2 separate regions of the Homo sapiens genome follow, and region 1 is linked to region 2. Evidence: promoter capture Hi-C in 16 types of primary human blood cells and fetal thymus (Javierre and others, 2016). All regions are on one chromosome and are shown on one strand. Each heading gives the region's core, a stretch centred on a gene start or on the middle of the fragment in contact. The rest is flanking DNA. Distances are from core to core; before and after follow the strand shown. Region 1 overlaps SRP14-DT (SRP14 divergent transcript). Region 2 holds the start of PHGR1 (proline, histidine and glycine rich 1).

The links. The method cuts DNA at HindIII sites, captures the fragments that hold promoters and counts their contacts. A CHiCAGO score of 5 or more calls a contact.
Region 1: a fragment that was not itself captured here is called in contact with the fragment with the promoter of PHGR1 in region 2 in 1 of 17 cell types (activated CD4 T cells); the score reaches 5.4 in activated CD4 T cells.

The regions. Positions count from the first base shown.
Region 1 is chr15:40,058,976-40,061,675 of GRCh38, reverse strand. All of the region lies in intron 2 of SRP14-DT (SRP14 divergent transcript), which reads right to left. Among named protein-coding and RNA genes, the nearest start is that of SRP14-DT, 21 kb to the right of the region's middle. RefSeq lists an enhancer at 36-95. The HindIII fragment of the contact is 258 bases long and covers 1,142-1,399 here.
Region 2 is chr15:40,349,546-40,352,308 of GRCh38, reverse strand. PHGR1 (proline, histidine and glycine rich 1) reads right to left here and starts at 1,276. Exons shown (of 4, transcript NM_001145643.2): 1 at 1,247-1,276. The HindIII fragment of the contact is 24,416 bases long and covers 1-2,763 here.

The sequences.
Region 1 (2,700 bases), core at 21-2,520, 290 kb after region 2:
AAACTTCAAGTGGGCGCTCAGCTTGCCCAGTAATCTTACTATATTTCTCTACTAAATTCACTGCGCCACTCTCCAGATAAGTGTTTCACATCTTCTCCAACCCTCAACACCTTCCCTTAGTTTCTCGCTGTTAGTTAAAGATCTTGCTTCTTATTTTGCTGAGAAACTAAATGTCATCTGCTGGAACGTACGTGCCTCTCACCATCAGATCTCCCAAGGTGCCTGCATCTATGCCCGCTGCTACCTTTCTTCCTCACAATGGATGCATGCATGGATAGATGGATGGATGGATGGATGGACGGAAGGATAGATGGACAGACGGACAGATGGATGGATGGATGGATGGGTGGACAGACGGACGGACGGACAGACGGATGGATGGACAGACAGATGGACAGATGGATAGATGGATGGACAGATGGAGGGATGGCCTCCTCTTGCATCCCTGGCCAATCCCTTCATTTTGTGCACCATATCCCTTCACTTACTCAAGACTGCCTGAAATCACCTTTCTCCCTCCTGCACTATCCAGCTCCTTCTCTCTGCCAGACCATTCCCTTCGGCACATAACTGCGCTATGATCTCTCTCACTTTCAAAACAAACTCTTCCTTGACCCTACACCCTCTTCAGCTTCTGCTCCACTTCCTCCTCCCTTTTACGCACCCCTCCTTGAAGTGGTTGTCCCTGCTGGCTACTTCTCCGAATCTTCACCTCCATTCCCTCTTAGCCTACACCAGCCAAGTTTTTGTTTCTGTCACTCCATTGAAACTGCCCTTGTCCAAGTCACCAGTGACCTCCTACTGGCGCATCCAAAAGGTCTGTCTCCTGGTCTCACCTCCTCAATTTCTCAGCAGCGTTTGCACAGTAGGGCACTCGCTCCTCCTTGCAACGCTGTCTTTCTTTGGAGTCCAGGACTCCACACTGGTCTGGCTTCCTCCTACCCGGATGGCAGCTCTTTCTCTGGCTCCTTCGCTGGCTCCTCCTCTTCTTGATCTCTAAATGTGAGCATGGTGTGGGGACTTTTTTCTTATTTACAGTCTCTCCCGGTTAGATGGTTAGATTCCATCTAGGCCTGTGCCTTTAAATGTCCTCTAGAGGTTGGGATCTTTGAGAGGCAACATGGAAGCGAGTAGAGAAGCTTGCCGGGGTGTGAACCCCTGCTCTGCCCCTGGTGAGCATGCCCCTGGTGTGATGTTGTTGCTGTTAAATTCTCCATGTAAGATCAGATCTTACATGGGGCCTGAGACAAAGGCTTAAGCATGAGTAGTTTATTTGGGAACATGATCCCAGGGAGCAGGGGTGAGGGGGAGGAGGAATGAAACAGAGAAAGGGGGGAGTCAATATGGGAGTGTGTTAACATCTCTCTGAGTGAACACCACTCAGTCTTTCTGTGAAGCTTTATGAAACGTACTTCAGAACTCACTGGAAGAAGGGGGACAGTTATCCATTGGCTCCTCTCGAGTCATCCCATGGAATGTTAGCTCCCCTTCACTTCTGGGCGGCTCATGTGTTAATGCCAAGCAGGTTCCATGGGTGTCCCCCCATCATGGTGTTGGGCGAGAGGCATGTGGAGAGGCCCTGCCAGGCGACATTTACACGGCACTGGTCAAGACCTGTGCAAAACTGGTCACTGGGGCAATGGCTGGAACAAGAGGTGAGGCCGCGGGCATCTGAAATGGCACACAGGATACGCCCCCTATGGACAGGGATAGCTACAGCTCTCGCCTCATAGGTTACTGAGAAGACTAAATGATTTAATGTATGTGTTTGGAGGAGTGCCCAGCTCTTAGCAGTGACCATCTACATGGTGGTAACCCTGCCCTGACATCCCGTCTGCCTAGTGGACACCTCGGAGGCCTGTCATGTTCAAAACAGAACTCGTATGCCCCGTCCCTCCGCTTGTCCAACTATTCCTCCAGTCTTTTCACTGCAGTTAAATGGCCAGGATTCATCTCTCTCTCCCACCCCTCACAACCAATTATCAAACTCTAGCTTCAAAAAATACCCCAGTCTGGCCTTTTCATTAATCCTCATCACAAAGTGACCCACCCAGGCCAAGTCACTATTGCTCCTTGCCTGGCCGACTGCACTAGCTTCCCAACCATCTCCTGCCCCCACTCTCCCCTCCCTACAGTTTGTTCTCCCACAACAGCCTGAGTGAGAATGTTACTGCTGATTAAATCACCCTCTAACAGCTTCCTATTATCCTTTTTATAATTTTTTAAAATCCTTTTTTAAAAAATAACAAGGCTGGGCATAGTGGCTCACGCTTATAATCCTAGCACTTTGAGAGGCCAAGGCAGGAGGATCACTCAAGCCTAGGAGTTTGAGGCTAGCTTGGACAATATAGTGAGACCCCTGTCTCTACAAAAAAAAAAAAAACACCTTAAAAATTAGCTGGGTATGGTGGTGCATGCACCTATAGTCCCAGTTACTTAGGAGGCTGAGGTAGGAGGATCACTTGAGCCTGGGAGGTCGAGGCTGCAGTGAGCTGTGATTGTGTCACGTCACTGCACTCCAGCCTAGGCGACAGAACAAGATCCTGTCTCAAAATAAATAAATGAATAAATAAATAAATCAGCTTTATTGAGATGTAATTCACATATCATATAATTCACCCACTGAAAGTATACAATTCAATGGGCTTTTTTTTTTTTTTGTATATTTGCAGGGTTGTGCAACCATCACCACAATCAATT
Region 2 (2,763 bases), core at 27-2,526:
AAAAACAAACAGCGCCCCCAATACAACAACCCTAGCCTCTTGCAAGACACAGCCCCCTGAACCTCTTTTTTTTCTAGGGAGCCTTAGTGCCTCTTTAAAAGTTTTTTTGAGACAGTCTCACTTTGTCATACAGGCTGGAGTGCAGTGGCGTGATCACAGCTCACTGAAGCCTCGACCTCCAGGGTTCAAGCAATCCTCCCACCTTAACCTCTGGAGTAGCTGGGACTATAGGTATGTGCCACCACACCCAGCTAATTAAAAAAATTTTTTTTGGCTGGGCACAGCGGCTCATGCCTGTAATCCCAGCACTTTGGGAGGCCTAGATGGGTGGATCATTTGAGGTCAGGAGTTCGAGACCAGCCTGTCCAATATGGTGAAACCCCGTCTCTACTAAAAATACAAAAATTAGCTGGGCATGGTGGCGGGAACCTGTAGTCCCAGCTACTTGGGAGGCTGAGACAGAAGAATCGCTTGAACCCGGGAGGCAGAGGCTGCAGTGAGCCGAGATTGCAGCACTGCACTCCAGCCTGGGTGACAGAGTAAGACTCTGTCTCAAAAAAAAAAATTGTTTTGTAGAGACAAGGTCTCACTATGTAGCCTAGGCTCAAGTGATCCTCTCACCTTAGCCTCCCAAAGTGCTGGATTTCAGGCATGAGCCACTGCACCCGGCCCCCTGCACCTCTTGAGCTACCCATTTTCACTGGCCTCTACTTGTACTCAAAGTGTTCAGCTGAGGTCAGCCTGTGAACTATACCCATGGTCCTTCGTGCTCCCTCGTCCTTTCCCTTAGTGAGTGATAAAGCTGGAAGAGACCTATGGGGCTGGGCTTTGCGGGGAGGAGAGGTAAAGAAAACCTCAGGGCCAGTCAGGATCGGGTAAGACGAAAGAGAAAAGACAATCCTCAGAATGTATCTCCCCAGTTCAGGCCCAGGTGTTTGAGGGACAGGAGTTGGCAGCTCTGGAAGGGACCTCATGCAATTTCTTCCACTCTCAGCTAAGCCCTGCTGCCTGGCATGGCAAAGGCTATAAATCATAACTGAAGAAGACAGTGGAAGTGTAGGGGCCCAGCCCAGGAGTGGGGACAGTGCAAATGGACAGACACACACCCTCATGCAGAGACACGGAAGCACGGATACCAATTCAATGCATATACACACCCAGAGAGACCCTGACCACATGCACACACAACATACCCCACAGAGACCCTACTGTCCCCAGCCAACAGCAAGTAGAGCCAGGTCCCTACCTGAGAGTGCAGAGCAGGGGCAGGAAGTCTGGGGCACTGTCTGTCCTCAGGTGTATTTGTACAGGTCAGGGAGGGGCTGGGATTGAACAGGTGCACTGGGAGGGCCAGATGCAGAAGGCTCGAGGGAATGAAGAGGGATGGGCTAATCCTTATCTGGGCAAAGGACAGTTGAAAGCAGGATGTGTGTGTGTGTGTGTGTGTGTGTGTGTGTGTGTGTGTGATGGGGAGGCTGGGGAACAAGCCGTTACCAGATTGGTGTGGTAACGAGATGCCACAGAATCCAGGCAGAAGTCCCCAACACTGGCAAGGCTGTTTACACCAGGGACTGGCTCTGAACATTTGTAGAGTTCCTACTGAATGCCAGGCCAGGCATGCGGTGCTTCACACACATTAGTAACCCAATGAGTCCCACAAGATAGATAGGATGATTACCTCCTTTCAGCAGGTGGAGGAATAAATAGTGACCATAGTGGAGGACCTGGTGGAATATTTGCCCTGGGCGCCAAGCCCCAGGCCTGAATTGTCAGATGTGCTGCCCAGCCCAGGGAGCTAGCCTGAGAATGGAAATTAGACACAGAAAAGGGAACTTTTGGGATGGATCTAGGCAGGCGGGGAGGGAGCCCAGCCTGCCAGCTTGCTCTGCACTCCGAAAGCCCCTTGTGGTCCGGTCCCCACTGACCCCTGTGGCCTCTGATGCCTGCCACAACCTCTTGCTTGGCGTGCTCTAGCCATGGTGGCCTTCCTTAGTCCCCTGCAGACAGAGCCAGTGCCCTTGCTCAGCTCTCCTGTCTCCCTGGATCCTTGCTCCTGATGTCTCTTGATCCCAGTGGGGACTCTGTGCTCCTCAGAGGCAGGGGCTGTTGTGGCTTCCTTCCTTCCCTCCTTCCCTCCTCCTCCTCCTCCTCCTCTCTCTCTTTCTCTCTTTCTTTTCTTTCTGAGACGGAGTCTCTCTGTGTCACCCAGGCTGGAGTGCAGTCGCACGATGTCAGCTCACTGCAACCTCTGCATCCTGGGTTCAAGTGATTCTCCTGCCTCAGCCATCCGAGGAGCTGGAATTACAGGCGCCCGCCACCACTCCTGGCTAACTTTTGTATTTTTAGTAGAGACAGGGTTTCACCATGTTAGCCAAGCTAGTCTCAAACTCCTAACCTCAGGTGATCCACCCACCTCGACCTCCCAAAGTGTTGGGATTACAGGCATGAGCCACCACACCCGGCCTGTGGTGGCTTTCTTAGTCACCTTTATATCCCCTCAATTAGAGCAGTAACGTAACCACCATCAGGATACAATTTGGAAAATGGAGAGGAGGAAAAGAGTGATCCTCCTTTATCTCCACGGTGGGCAGGAAAGTGTTTGTGTGCCAGTTTCTCTTACAGTATCAGTTATCTCATATCAGCTCTTGGAGGTAATGGTTATGATCTTCCCCTCTTTTATAGATTAAAACATTGCCAGCGTTCAGAGACATTAAGAAATCTGCTTGAGGTCGCCCACCAAGTGTGTAGTTAGTCCCAACTGGG